Linked DNA regions of Homo sapiens: regions 2 and 3 are each linked to region 1. The links are contacts of gene promoters, found by promoter capture Hi-C in human tissues and cell types (Jung and others, 2019). All regions are on one chromosome and are shown on one strand. Each heading gives the region's core, a stretch centred on a gene start or on the middle of the fragment in contact. The rest is flanking DNA. Distances are from core to core; before and after follow the strand shown.

Region 1 (4,712 bases), core at 986-3,485:
GGAATGCGCAGTGTGGCTTCCCTAACAGAAATCACTTTCCTTGGCCTCTGCAACCACAGCATCTGCTTGAATCTGGTTTGTGGCACTGAATATAATGTTTGCTTTTCTTCATTTTCTGGAGTGGGTGAGAGGTGCACTAGGAGGAACAGGAGATAAGCTGGGGTGGAAGTTCAGGGTGGGGCACTCAGAGGGGGTCAGCTTGCACTGAGCAACCAGGAACACCCTTCTGTGCTGTATGAAGGGATGGGAAGAGGGGAATAGGATTGCACAGGAAATACCTTGAGACCCATGGTTGTGTAATGGGGGAAGCTTCTCCTGGGTTAGACCAATCGTTCTCTTCTGGGTATAATTTTGCACCGTCCCCCCCGCCAACCCCCCCCCCCCCGCCCCAACACACACACCTTTCCCCTGGAAGCATGTGGCAGCGTCTGGAAACATTTTGATTGTTACAACTCAGGGTAGAAGGTGCTATTGGCAACTGATTGGTGGAGGTCAGAGACTCTGCTAAACATCCTACAATGCACAGGACAGCCCTCACACCAAAGGGTTATCCAGCACAAAATGTCAATCGTAAAGAATTTGAGAAACCCTGAGTTCCATTTAGGGTGGGAGGTGCACTGCCTGACAACACATCTGACATAAACCCTCCCCCATGACTGAAGAGAGAGTGTTGGACAGACAGTGAGACTGGCCAGAGAATACACAGAGCTAATTGAGATCATAACAGTGTGTACAAGTTTGACTTTGTCCTTTTAATTTATCATTATGCTATAGCAATATTAGCACAGAGAAAATTATAAATAGGACTATAAGATCTGTCTAATATTGGAGGGACAGAATCTTTTGCAAAGCTGTGCACCAAAAGAGAAAAGCAGCTGTTTCGTGAAAGAACTCAGGACTAGGTCTTGGAATCCAACTCCAGCTCTGCCATTCAACCCCAAGGAGCAAATTTATCTTCTGAGCTCCAGTTACTTCACCTGTAAAACCTGAATGATAATATCTTCTCCATGAGCTGTTTCAAGAAATATGGCACAGCTTATATTCCTTAATATTAGTGAGAATCCCTAATATTCTCACTAATATTAATATTAACCACTCATCTTCCATCATCCACCCACTCTTATACACACTCATAGAGCCACTGTCATTAAGAAGGAGCTATCAAAATATTATCTATGAGTACTTTGAATTTAGAGTCAGGGAAATTGCAAGTAAGAGACTAGATATCCTCTATACAAAGGCATATAAGTCTTCCTATAAGCCAGCTGCTTGCATAGAACTCAAGAATGGAGTCAGAGAGTCAGAAGATAATGCAAGAATAAAATGCAAACATAAAAGGACAAAGAAAAAACATTCTTAGTCATTCACGGTTAGGAATTTCACAGACATCCTAATGAGATGGGATCAGAAGTTAATGCCATATACTCTACTATCGATAACTATAGTTAGAGTGTGGTTATTAATATTGCATTAACTAACTGGTAAGCTACACAGTGTTGTCTCATGGTGTGAGTTCAGTCACTCCAACAAATCCATTTGTTGGCTTCATAAATTTCCCAGCTATAGGACCTCCCCATATATTGCAATAAATCCATATTTCAAATAGGCAGATCTATTCCTGTCAATGCTCAAGCCTGTGTCACTAGACTGAAGAAGTAATGCTCTTTATGGCTGAATATTAACTAGGCTTGTTTCTGTGTGAATATGGTTGAACAATTTTGCGCAATTTCCTCCCCACGTGTAATCAAAGTTTAAAGAAACTTAATCACTTGCTAGGTCCAAGAATTGCATCTTCTTGGGAATTTTCCTCTCTGAGAATCTAAGAAAGCCCAGATCAAATGAAATTGCTGTGGATTTGCATTAAAGAGAAATAATTCATAGCATTTCCTAGCACTTAATCACAATGAAGAGGAAAAGCCCTCCTTGGGCCAGGGATATGCTCTGCTGGGTTCAAGTCTTGTCTCTGTCACCAACTTGCTCAGAAGATTTGGACAGGTCACTTCTCCTCCCCAGGCCTCTATCACCTTTGTGGACACTGAGAGGGTGCAGCAACTTCAGAAAAATCCCTCATGCACAACCGGACATTTGAGGCCCTCACCCACTACCTGTCCAGCTCTGACCTTCTGTCTTCTAAGACACCCCCTACTGTCTCTTTCCGTCATTTTTCTCTTGCACAGATATGTTCTTCTATTATGCAATGGGAACTTGACCACATATTAGATGCCTAGGACTCTTCCCAAAAAGCCTGATGCGCTGCTCAGTACTTTGCTGATGGCAGAGGGGATATCACATGGAAAAAGCCAATGAGACCTCCCCTGTGATGGGGTTCGTTCTCCTGAGGCTCTCTGCCCACCCAGAGCTGGAAAAGACATTCTTCGTGCTCATCCTGCTGATGTACCTCGTGATCCTGCTGGGCAATGGGGTCCTCATCCTGGTGACCATCCTTGACTCCCGCCTGCACACGCCCATGTACTTCTTCCTAGGGAACCTCTCCTTCCTGGACATCTGCTTCACTACCTCCTCAGTCCCACTGGTCCTGGACAGCTTTTTGACTCCCCAGGAAACCATCTCCTTCTCAGCCTGTGCTGTGCAGATGGCACTCTCCTTTGCCATGGCAGGAACAGAGTGCTTGCTCCTGAGCATGATGGCATTTGATCGCTATGTGGCCATCTGCAACCCCCTTAGGTACTCCGTGATCATGAGCAAGGCTGCCTACATGCCCATGGCTGCCAGCTCCTGGGCTATTGGTGGTGCTGCTTCCGTGGTACACACATCCTTGGCAATTCAGCTGCCCTTCTGTGGAGACAATGTCATCAACCACTTCACCTGTGAGATTCTGGCTGTTCTAAAGTTGGCCTGTGCTGACATTTCCATCAATGTGATCAGCATGGAGGTGACGAATGTGATCTTCCTAGGAGTCCCGGTTCTGTTCATCTCTTTCTCCTATGTCTTCATCATCACCACCATCCTGAGGATCCCCTCAGCTGAGGGGAGGAAAAAGGTCTTCTCCACCTGCTCTGCCCACCTCACCGTGGTGATCGTCTTCTACGGGACCTTATTCTTCATGTATGGGAAGCCTAAGTCTAAGGACTCCATGGGAGCAGACAAAGAGGATCTTTCAGACAAACTCATCCCCCTTTTCTATGGGGTGGTGACCCCGATGCTCAACCCCATCATCTATAGCCTGAGGAACAAGGATGTGAAGGCTGCTGTGAGGAGACTGCTGAGACCAAAAGGCTTCACTCAGTGATGGTGGAAGGGTCCTCTGTGATTGTCACCCACATGGAAGTAAGGAATCACAATCACATCAGCTGCCATTCAAAAGCCAAGTCATGTGACCTATAATGGTTTCTCACTCTAAGTCCATTTGCAGGAGATATTAAACTTTTCAGACGATATCTCCTGAGTTTTAGTCCTATGTCTGACAGCTTCAACAGACACCAGACTCAATAAATAATCAACTGTGATGAAGGCATTCTGAACATACGGTAAAACCACACGAGACAGCAGCCATGAAAGCATGACGCATGGCCCTTAGAGTGTCTCAGCTCTAGAGTTAGAACAGGGACGTGAGAATGTTCTCACAGCAACTTACCAGCCCTACTGGATTCACCAGGGAAATCAGAGAAATAAGGAGGGAGTGGAAACTTTTACTGAGGCTTCAGTTTATTACACTCAGTTTGCCTGAATGGCTAAGAAAAGGTAAGTTCTTCACTTAGGGAGCTTTTAGTTGTGAATAATCTATTTTGATGACTGAATATCTTTTTAGCTATGAGAAAATTTAGGCTATTTTTTCCTGATGCACTGCAGATCATTGAACACCACCTAGTAAATTAAATAAAATTCAAGGAGTAATGAGTTCAAATTTGACGTTCTTACAGAATTTCACAACAGCAAAGCTTGTATTCTGATAGATGCCAAATCATGTTCTAGAAAAAAGATGATGGTAGATAGATATAGATAGAAGTAGACAGATGGTGGCTACACATGTTTGAAGACTTTGGGTCTAATTTCTTTTTTTTTTTTTTTTTTGAGACAGAGTCTCGCTGTGTCACCCAGACGAGAGTACAGTGGTGCAGTCTCGGCTCACTGCAACCTCTGCCTCCCAGGTTTAAGCAAGCCTCATCCCTCAGCCTCCTGAGTAGCTGGGACTACAGGCATACACCACCATGCCCGGCTAATTCTTGTATTTTTAGTAAAGACAGGGTTTCACCATTTTGGCCAGGCTGGTCTCAAACTGCTGGCCTCAAGTGATCCGCCCGACTCAGCCTCCCAAAGTGCTGGGATTACAAGCGTGAGCCACAGTGTCCTAGCCTATGGGGCTAAATTTTCATAGGTTTCTTTGTTCCAAGACTTCTCAGAGCCTTTATTATGCAAAGGTCCACTGTGAATGTTCAATAGGGTATAAAGTTGTAGCATTTCCTGAGCCTCCAAAGTTCAGCACAATAAAAATTGGGAAGCTTTTTTTTTTTTTTTTTTTTTTTGAGACAGAGTCTTGCTCTGTCATCCAGGCTGGAGTGCAATAGTAAGACCTCGGCTCACTGCAACCTCCGCCTCCCAGGTTCAAGCGATTCTCCCACCTCAGCCTCCAGAGCAGCTGGGATTACAGGCACCTGGCATCATGCCCAGCTAATTTTTGTATTTTTGTAGAGATGGGTTTCACCATGTTGGCCAGGCTGGTCTTGAACACCTGACCAAGTCCAAGGTGAACT
Region 2 (4,712 bases), core at 757-3,256, 180 kb before region 1:
TGCCTGTCTATCCCCTACATAGCTTTATGTATTCCTTTCACAATCCAAGTGGATGCACGCCCCGGCACTGGGTCCACAGCTTGATACAGAGCTGCTAGACAGTGCAAGGGAGGGAAGGAGGAAGGGGCGAACAGACAGAAGAATGGGCACACAGCTGAATATGAGCAGTTCTGGAAAACCGTGCCTTACATAAGATGCCAGAAACAACTGATTAAGGTGTAGCCTAGGCTGGGCGCACCTGTAATCCTAGCACTTTGGGAGGCTGAGGCAGGCAGATCATGAGGTCAGGAGTTCAAGACCAGCCTGACCAACACGGTGAAACCCTGTCTCTACTAAAAATACAAAAGTTAGCTGGGCGTGGTGGCGCACACCTGTAATCCCAGCTACTCAGGAGGCTGAGGCAGGAGAATGACTTGAACCTGGGAGGCGGAGGTTGCAGTGAGCCGAGATCGCACCACTGCACTCCAGCCTGGGCAACAGAAGGAGACCACGTCTCAGAAAGAAAGAAAAAAAAAAAGTAGCCTAAGGGAATTTGTGGATTTTCTCCACAAATTTCTACAGAGAAAGGAGTTGATTTCCCAAGCAGATATCTCGAAAGACTCGCTCTCATCTGCCATACTTTTGCTCCATCACCATCTGTCATCCTGTTAACTAAATGGCAACCCATTATATCACCTTTCCATACTGTGAAGAACCCCAGGGCTCATACGGCCACCCTCATTGTACAGACAGGGAGGAACAGAGGGAAGGAGGCTTGCTCAGTATCACACAGCCAGTGATTGGCTGGGCCAGGGCTGAAAGCCAGACCTGCCTCTACAGCCTAGGAAGGCTGGTTAGGACCAAGGCCAGGGAAAGCCACTTGCGCCCAGCGCTGGCATCTCCTGAGTCCAGATCTTGGAGGACAGATCCTAGAAGGGACCTAGCCTTACTCATCTGAAGTGGACAATCCGGATGAAGCAGGACTTCTGAATCCTGTTCAACAGCTGTTCTCTAAGAGCCTCCTGTGAGGCAGAAGCAATGCTGAGATAAACACGGCCCCTGGCAGCCAGGGGTGAGGACCCGGTGGGAAACAGGTCTATGGCTGAACTCTTGTCCCCGGCCCACTACAGGAAGGGCTGCAGCGAGGAAAACACCAGGTTGGGCGCTCCCTCCCGGGGGGAATCACAGATGGGCTCCAGCCCAGGAGCTGAGCCTAGAGGGATGGGATTTTCAGGCTGAGAGTTGGGGTGGTGAAGGCCCGGCAAGGAAACCTAGGGGAAGGGACCTGTGCACCAGCTTCTGGACAGCTCTAGTGTAGGGCGGAGGTAAGGGCTAGGGACCCACTCCCAGGGGCCCGAAGGCAGGACTGGAGTGTGTCCTTTCACTCTGAGGACAATGGTGAGGAAGGTGTTAGGGAGCGACAGGAGGAGAGCTGCGCTGCAGAAAGTTCATCCCGACAGCCACAGTAGAGAGGATGGGGTGCCCCAGGAGAAAGGGAGCCAGACCGAGCCTAGCACAGGGGGAGCCCGGCACGGCGCGGGCGCTCAGGAGAGAAGGAACAACAAATGGATGAGGGGGATGCTCAGGGCTGTCCTCGGGACAGCCGAGCGGGGCAAACTGCTTCGCAGCGAGAGCTGTTGTCACACTTTGGTGACTTTTCCAACTCTAAGTCTGGCCTCCTGAAACAAAGCAGAAGCCACGCCTTGGCGGGCCGCGGCGCGCAGCCCCTCAGGGTCGGGAAGCCCAACTTGGCGCGATCCCCGGCTCTCCGGCGGGGGCCTCCCTCGGGCTCGCCTTCCCCCCGGGTTCCCCGGAAACCGCGCCGGGGCGCTCCGCCCGCGCGCCCTCCACCCGCACCCCGGGCTCCCGCACTCCCCAGGACCTGGCTTGCGGCGGACGAGGGAGACGGCGAGGTCCGGGAGCGCGGGGTTCCGAACCATTCCGCAGCGGGCGAGCCCGCGGGCTCACCTGACTTGCCCATGGCCGGCTCCGCGCGCTCCTCGCTCCCCGCGGCTGCGCTGCACTGCGCTCGCCCGGCCCAGCGCCGCCCCAGAGCCCAGGACCGGGCTGATGCCGCGGCCCCTCCTCCGGCGCCGCCCGGCCCCCGCCTTATAAGGAGCGACAGCTGAGGGCGGAGGCGCCCGGGGCCACCCCGTGGGCCTCCCGGAGAGCTCACCCCTGGGAAGCAGCTCCGCGACTGCCGAGGGCTCCCCGGATGCGGCCGCGGGGCTCAAGCCTCCCGGACCCCACACCGAGCTGTCCCTTCCCGGGGCGCGTGGGGAAGCCCGCGCCTGCTGGGCCCCGGGTGGCTGCTCTGCGCCGACGCGCGGCGAGGACAGAGGGGCGCGCGGTCGCGGCACGAGGGGCGTTCCGGCCGGCGCCACCAGGGGACGGCCTCTCCCTGCCGCGGCCTGACACGACACACGCAGCCCCGGGGTGTGCCCCCATCTCCGGTGACTCTGGGCTCCGGAGGGCGGCTGGTCCGGGGAGGGGGATGCTCCTCTCCTAGGACACGCCCTCTAATGCCAGTCGGGGTGGAAGCGCCGCCGCCTCTGACCCGTCCACTCGCCCCTCATTGCCTCCCAGACCAAGCCAATTCCCACCCCTGCAGTCTGGCCCCAGACCTGTCTCCCCAACGCCCCACCTTTTCCCCATACTCCAGTCAAACTAGATGTCTTGTCATTCCCCAAACATGTTCTGGGATTTCCCACCTCCCTGCCTTTCCTCAGGCGGTCCCTCCTCCGGGAGTGCTGGCCCTGGAGCCACCATTCCAGTGCTGCCCATCCCTCGGGGTCGGCCGGTCTTTCCAACTGCCAGGTGCCCTGACCCTGGGAGCAGCACACACCAGGTACTGGGGAGATGTGGTCCCACCCATGGCCCCTGCCCCGTGGGAGAAGTGCACTTACTTGACCGCACAGCCCTAGTCACCTGTGCCAGACTTCCCGCAAGCGCTCCTTTCTGGGGAAGGGGCTCAGTACACCCCAAATGAAGGAAGCGAATTTTAAGGCTTTTCAATGAATGGGCACTGAAGTGAGCTGACCCACTGATGATAAGGCTAGAATTTGTAATACCAACGGCTTACGAATGTCCCGCAGGGCGATGGCTGGGCACTGTGCTCTCTATTCCTTTCCCCATGTCAGGCAAATACACCTACTGTATTTTAGTACCGTCATGAGTAATGACATTTCAGTCAATGCCAGACCACATATACTGTGGTAGTCCCAAGAGATTATGATACCATATTTTTACTATGTTTCTATGTTTACATCTGTTTATATATGCAAATTTTTACCATTGTGTTACAGTCACCTAAAGTATTCAGTATGGGTCAAATTGGTGCCCAACCCTGATTCAAAAGGGACTCCTGGGGCTGGGTGCGGTGGCTCACGCCTGTAATCCCAGCACTTCAGGAGGCGGAGGTGGGAGGATTCTTGAGCCCAGGAGTTCAAGACCAGCCTGAGGCAATATAGTGAGACCCCCCCTCCCATCTCTATAAACAAACAAAAGGGACTCCTGGTGCTAGGTGGGGATCTAACCCCCTCTATTCAATTCCCTCTCCCATTTTGTCAACAAATGCCTATTGAAATAATCAAATAAACACAGTAGGAAGAATTCCATGTTGCCCCTAGAATCTCTAGAAGGCTGTATTTCACATAACAAAAACTTTAAGGCCGTGGGTGGAGACAGTGAGGCTCAGCGGGCTGCTCACTGCACGCAGAGGGAAGCCCATCTGGGACCACCATGTTTCACTGACACCTTGAGGTCTGAGGACTGGAGGTGAGAGGGGCTGAGAGTGGATGCATTTCCTAACTTAGAAATTCATAACCTTAGCAGCAGGCACATGAAGGAACAGGGTGCTGAATGGAGGGTGTTAGGGCAGTGCCAAAGTCAACCCCGACCAAGGGCCGTGGGCTAGTTGGAGAGGGAGTCGCTGTCCAGGCATCAGACACAAGAGACAAATGGCCACAAAGGTCAGACACAAAGAAGAGTGATTGACCCAATGTATTGTCTTTGTGTGTGTGTGTGTGTGTGTGTGTGTGTGTGTTTTGAGACAGTCTCGCTCTGTCTCATAGGCTGGGGTGCAGTGGTGCGATCTCGGATCACTGCAACCTCCACCTCCTGGGTTCAAGCAATTCTCCTGCCTCAGCCTCCCAAGTAGCTGGGATTACAGGCATGTGCCGCCATGCCCAGCTAATTTTTTGTATTTTTAGTAGAGACGGGGTTTCACCATATTGGCCAGGCTGGCCTTGAACTCAAGTGATCTACCCACGTTGGCCTCCCAAAGTGTTGGGATTAGAGGCGTGAGCCACCCCGCCCAGCCACCACTACTCCATCTTTTAACTTTTAACCGTTTCTTTATATTTAAAATAGACATCTTATAGTTGACAAGATGCAGTTAGGTCTTTTTTTTAAATCCTGTCTGACAATATCTGCCTTTTAATTTGTATTAATACCATTCATACTTGATAACATTATTTTCTTTTTTCTTTTTGAGATGCAGTCTCCCTCTGTTGCCCAGGCTGGAGTACAGTGTCTTGATCTTGGCTCACTGCAACCTCCACCTCCCAGGTTCAAGCAATTCTGCTGCCTCAGTGCCCTCCCCTTGACCCCAGTAGCTGGGATTACAGGCATGTGCCACCACATCCAGCTAATTTTTGTGTTTTTAGTAGAAACGGGATTTCTCCATGTTGGCCAGGCTGGTCTCAAACTCCCGATCTCAGGTGATCCACCCG
Region 3 (4,712 bases), core at 2,213-4,712, 140 kb after region 1:
ACAGAATCTGAAGTATAGTTGCCAGTCTCCCTGTTCAAACTCCAGTCTTCTTCATCTGAATGCTGGGCACTGATTCCTACACTAGTGCTTGGACTTGACTGCCCCCCGGCCCTCCGAGCAGGCCTTGATCTTTGGGCCTCACCTCCTGCTTTTTTAATGTATCCTGCTACTCCAGACAGAATTCGGAACTCCTCTAGTGGAATCCTGGCTCCCGCCCACCTGCATTGTGACTGCCTATACCTTGCTCTCTCAACAAAGCCTCCCTGGTGTAAGGGGGCACTGGCACTACAGGCAATCAGCATCAAGACAGAAGAAGCAAAGCCAAAAGCCACATCTAGACAGGCTTTAGATCCTGACAGACTATGGGTAAGACAAGAAAACTTAATCTGAGGCACGGAATTGTGAATTGTGGCCCTGACCACAGTCAAAGACCAGATGATGCCACTCTCCTTATTCATGTTATGGAACCTCAGGGTTATGCCTGAATACTGGCTCTCTCTTCCTCTTGAAGGAATGAGCTCAATTGTTTAATCAGGCAATCTACGTTCTCTCAGCAACCATTTTGTGCCAGGCCTTGTGCTAGGATGAGAGATACGGGTGAAAAGACAGCTCCCTTGAAGAACTCATGGACTAATAGGAATACAAGGGAATGATCTATTATAATGCAGTGTACTGCAACAGGAGTAGCACAAGGAGCTATGGATGGCAATAGGAGGGGCCCAGACAGACAGGGGAAGTCAGGGACACCTTTTTGGTGGAGGTGACATTTCAGTTGAGCCTTTAATTGGGACTAAGAATCCTACACCTGGCAGTCCCACTGCATGGGGCCTCATACAGGATTCTTGGCTAGAAGTTGGGGTACTCTCAGTTCTCATGGAGAATGAGAAAATCTGAATTGGAGGTGCCATCTGGTTATCCTCCCTCAGTTGCACAGCACCACCCTCACCTCAAGACTAGTCACGAAGCCAGGGATTCAGACCTCACTGCTGAACACCAGCTCTCGAGGGTTGTGACCTCTTGCTGGTGCCTACTCTCAGGGACACTTCTTAGCCTCACTTTCCTTTCCACGCCTCCTTGCTTAGCCTCAAAATATATAATTTTTGGTCTTCACCACTCATGACTGCTACCTACCCCTTTCTCCTGACCCTTGAAGAACCTTTGGCAGCCCTTCTTAGGTACACAGAGAGCATTGGTACAATAGCACCAGGAACACAGAGGGAGGTATTAAGGTACCAACGTGGAGACGTGAGAGGAAGCCCTCCTCCTACCTTCCAGCACCAGAGCTATCCAACCTCCTTCTCCTCTTCAGGACCTTCAATAAATATGCTCCTTAGGAGCCAATCCCATTGTCTGTACATCTGGCCAATCATCTTCCCTTTCCCTCACCTTAGACACTTCAAGAAAACAAAGCAAAGTTGGGCTTTAGTGGGATGAGGAGAGGAGATGAGAATCCCTGTGGTCACAGAGAACTCAGTGAGATTCATGTTCATCCTCAAACAAAATTTCATCTATAATCTTCCTGCTCAGAAACCACTCTCTTGAGTCATCTCTGGCAGGCTGACAAAGATGGAGTAGATCCTGGGTAGGAAGAGAACTGAAGACACTTCTGGGGTAATGAGAAAACCCTGAGGAAAAAGAAAATCTAAGGGGTAGAGGTGAGGACTTCCAGGTGGAGATAAAGATACCTGGGGGTGGGGAGAGGTAAGTTCCCCCCACCCCCTCACCTCCATCAAGGGATAGGTAAGAACACTTCGGGGGAGCTTAGAATTTTTTTACTTCTCACTTTTAATCCTGCATACCTAGGTCTCTACATTGGCTGGCGCTGCCCCCATTACCTATGGGACTGTTTCCGGATTGGGGATGAGTCCAGATGCTTTTGTGGACACTTGTTGAGAGAGCACCGGATCATCTCAGGTAGGGGAGAACTGACCAGCCCCTCTCGAGTGTGGAGGAATAACTGTACTCTGTCATGTCTTGGGAAGTATGAGAGAGAGCATGTGGCTGGGCACGGTGGCTCACCCCTGTAATCCCAGCACTTTGGGAGGCGGAGGCGGGTGGATCAAAGGTCAGGAGATCGAGACCATCCTGGCTAACACAGTGAAACACCGTCTCTACTAAAAAATAAATAAATAAATACAAAAAATTTAGCCAGGCATGGTGGCACGCACCTGTAGTCCCAGCTACTCAGGAGGCTGAGGCAGGAGAGTCACTTGAAGCCAGGAGGCGGAAGTTGCAGTGAACTGAGATCATGCCACTGCACTCCAGCCTGGGCGACAGAGCAAAACTCCATCTCAAAAAAAAAAAAAGCATGTCTGCGTGCATAGGGGGTGGTGGGGATGGAGGATGGGGTTGGCATGAGAAGGCAAGGTCCTATCAGATTAACCCTACCATCCATCCCCAATCCCACAGACATATCGGTGCCCTGCAAGGTAAGCCAGTGCCGCTGCTTCATGTTCTGCTTTATCCCATCACGCCCAGAGGAGGTGGGTGAGTTCTGGCTCAAGAGACGGGCCACCTTTGACCCCAAGGCCTGGAGGGCCCAATGTCGCTGCAAACACAGCCACGAAGAACATGCAGCCACTGGGCCCCATCCCTGCAGGCATCATGGTAACTTCTAGGGCAAGAGGTGTATTGGGAGCAGGGTAGGTGGGGATAGGATGCAATCTGGGGATAATGATGGAGAGCAGGTATGAGAGCCTTGGGCATGCGGTCACTGAGGAAGAGATGAGAATGTGGTCAGCTCCTGGGGATACCACCATTTCCTAAACTCTTCTTGGCTGCACTTTTGCCCCAGGCTGTTGCTGCGGCTGTTTTGAGTCTAATTTCCTCTGTGCGGCCTGTGACCGGCGCTGGGAGGAACACGAGACTTTCTTTGACACCCAGAAGACCCGGCAACGAGGAGGAAGGCCTCGCGGTGAGGCAGAAACCTGGGACAGGGGGCCATTCCAGGGTCTGTAGTCAGAAGGCCAGGCAGGAAGGCACTCCCATCCTCAACCATCCCTTCCAGGACTAGCGCGCTCCCTCAGCCCACCTCCCCACCACCCACCTACCTGCATCCCACATCTGCACTGGTTTTCACCCCCAGGAGCAGACTATGTACCTTTTGCAGAGATGGCTGTGCTCCGAGAAGCCATCCTCAGCAACTCTGACTTCTAGGCCCTGCAGATACAGGGGCCCTCTGGCCTTCCCAGCTCCCACCCTAGTCCCCCGGGGCTCCCTGGTTCACACGGTCTCCAGCCTGGCCTCCCTTCTGACCCCCATACCTGACCCTTTCACCTCTGCTCTTTCTTCCTCCAGGGACAGACACTGTCAGCAACTGGCACAGGCCTTTGTGAGTCTGGCCCAGATCAGCAATAAAAGAGGAGTCATTGGAACCTGACTTGGCTCTATATGGGGCAGGTAGATCCCAGCCCAGGGAGAGACTGCCTAATAACTTAGAGTTGACACCTATTAGACACAGGAGAAAGCCTGGATCTGGCCATCTGCCTCCATCACACTCACATTCAAGCTGCCTGTTGAAGGAAAGTGGCTTCAAGGAAGTCAAGAAGGGAGGAAGTTTCAAGAAGGATAGAGTGGGAAGTGATGTTAGATGCAGTTGGGGCACCAATAAGATAAAGACTGAAAAGTGTCCATTGGGTTTTGCAATTAGAAGATCTTTGGGAACATCGGAGAGTGCAGTTTCACACTGGTGCAGTGGAGGCAGGAGTCAAACAGCAGTGAGTTTCAAGGAGTCTCTTAAAGAAGCTTGGATGAAAAGTACAAAAGTAAAGTCAGACAATATCCAGAGGGAGTTGTGGAGTCAAGGAAGTACTTTTGTAGGAAGGAAAAGGGGAAGAGGCCAGTAGACTAAAGGACCTTGAAGGACCCAGAAGAGAGAGAAGAGATGCCTGGTGAGACAAGATCCCAGAGATGGAGGAAAGGGATGAGGTCAAAGCAGAGGTGAAGGGATTTTCTCTGGACAGGAGAAACACCACTTCCTATGACCAAGACGAAGGAAGAGGATGGAGCCTTCCTAGAGTTTCAGGGAACAAGAACCTGTGGAAGTTCCCCTCTGATGGCTTCTATATGCCCTGTGAAGTAGGAGATAAGGCCAATGGCTGGGGTCCAGGGGAAGAGGGATAAGAGTAGGGAGCAGGAGACAAGAAGAGAAAGGGGAAGGTTTGGGAAGGCTAATGTAGGGAACTGGAGAAAAACCTCATCAGTGGGTAGTTCAGGATTCGGGCACAGTTGGAAGTGAGAACCTAGTTAGAGAAGCAGAGAATCCAAATATTTAATGGGTTGATGATGTGAGGGTGTCAGGGAGGAAGATCAGGAAAACTAAGCAAAAGAAGGCATGAGGATGTGAAGGGAGCATACAGCACCAATAGGGAAAGAAAGTGATGCCAGGAGGCAAATGACAGATTGAAAAAGGGAGCAGTCAAAGGAAGAGAAGTCTCTAATGAGGTACAGTAGCAGACGTAGGGGCAGGGGTTGGAGTACAAGAGACAGTGTTCAGAGGCTGCAGAGCATAACATCTTTCAGATGAGGGCAAGTGAAGGTGATAAGTGCTTGAAGTAGAGAAAACTGTGGGCCAAGGATCAAAATCAGTGAATGTGGGAAGTCACAAGGGAGTCCATAGGTTCTTATGGGAGTAGGAGATTCCAGCACTAATGGGCTCTGTGAACCCAGGCAAGTCACTGTCCCTCTTTAGGCTGAGTTTCTGGACCTGTAAA

What was found. Contacts are between HindIII fragments. The study calls those that stand out against the background at their distance.
Region 2: the fragment with the promoter of GLIPR2 here is called in contact with the fragment with the promoter of OR2S2 in region 1 in 1 of the 25 tissues and cell types used here (IMR-90 fibroblasts).
Region 3: a contact is called between a fragment that was not itself captured here and the fragment with the promoter of OR2S2 in region 1, in 1 of the 25 tissues and cell types used here (mesenchymal stem cells).

Annotation. Positions count from the first base shown.
Region 1 is chr9:35,955,677-35,960,388 of GRCh38, reverse strand. It overlaps OR2S2 (olfactory receptor family 2 subfamily S member 2), which reads left to right and starts at 2,235. Exons shown (of 1, transcript NM_019897.2): 1 at 2,235-3,281. The coding sequence starts at 2,291. The coding sequence ends at 3,250. The HindIII fragment of the contact is 4,346 bases long and covers 1-4,180 here.
Region 2 is chr9:36,134,027-36,138,738 of GRCh38, reverse strand. GLIPR2 (GLI pathogenesis related 2) reads right to left here and starts at 2,006. Exons shown (of 5, transcript NM_022343.4): 1 at 1,948-2,006. The coding sequence starts at 1,960. RefSeq lists silencers at 1,705-1,754, 1,785-2,354. The HindIII fragment of the contact is 26,005 bases long and covers 1-4,712 here.
Region 3 is chr9:35,817,092-35,821,803 of GRCh38, reverse strand. FAM221B (family with sequence similarity 221 member B) reads left to right here. Exons shown (of 7, transcript NM_001012446.4): 4 at 1,804-1,914; 5 at 2,410-2,607; 6 at 2,795-2,914; 7 at 3,298-4,712. The coding sequence ends at 3,335. Among named protein-coding and RNA genes, the nearest start is that of HINT2, 4.4 kb to the right of the region's middle. The HindIII fragment of the contact is 5,842 bases long and covers 542-4,712 here.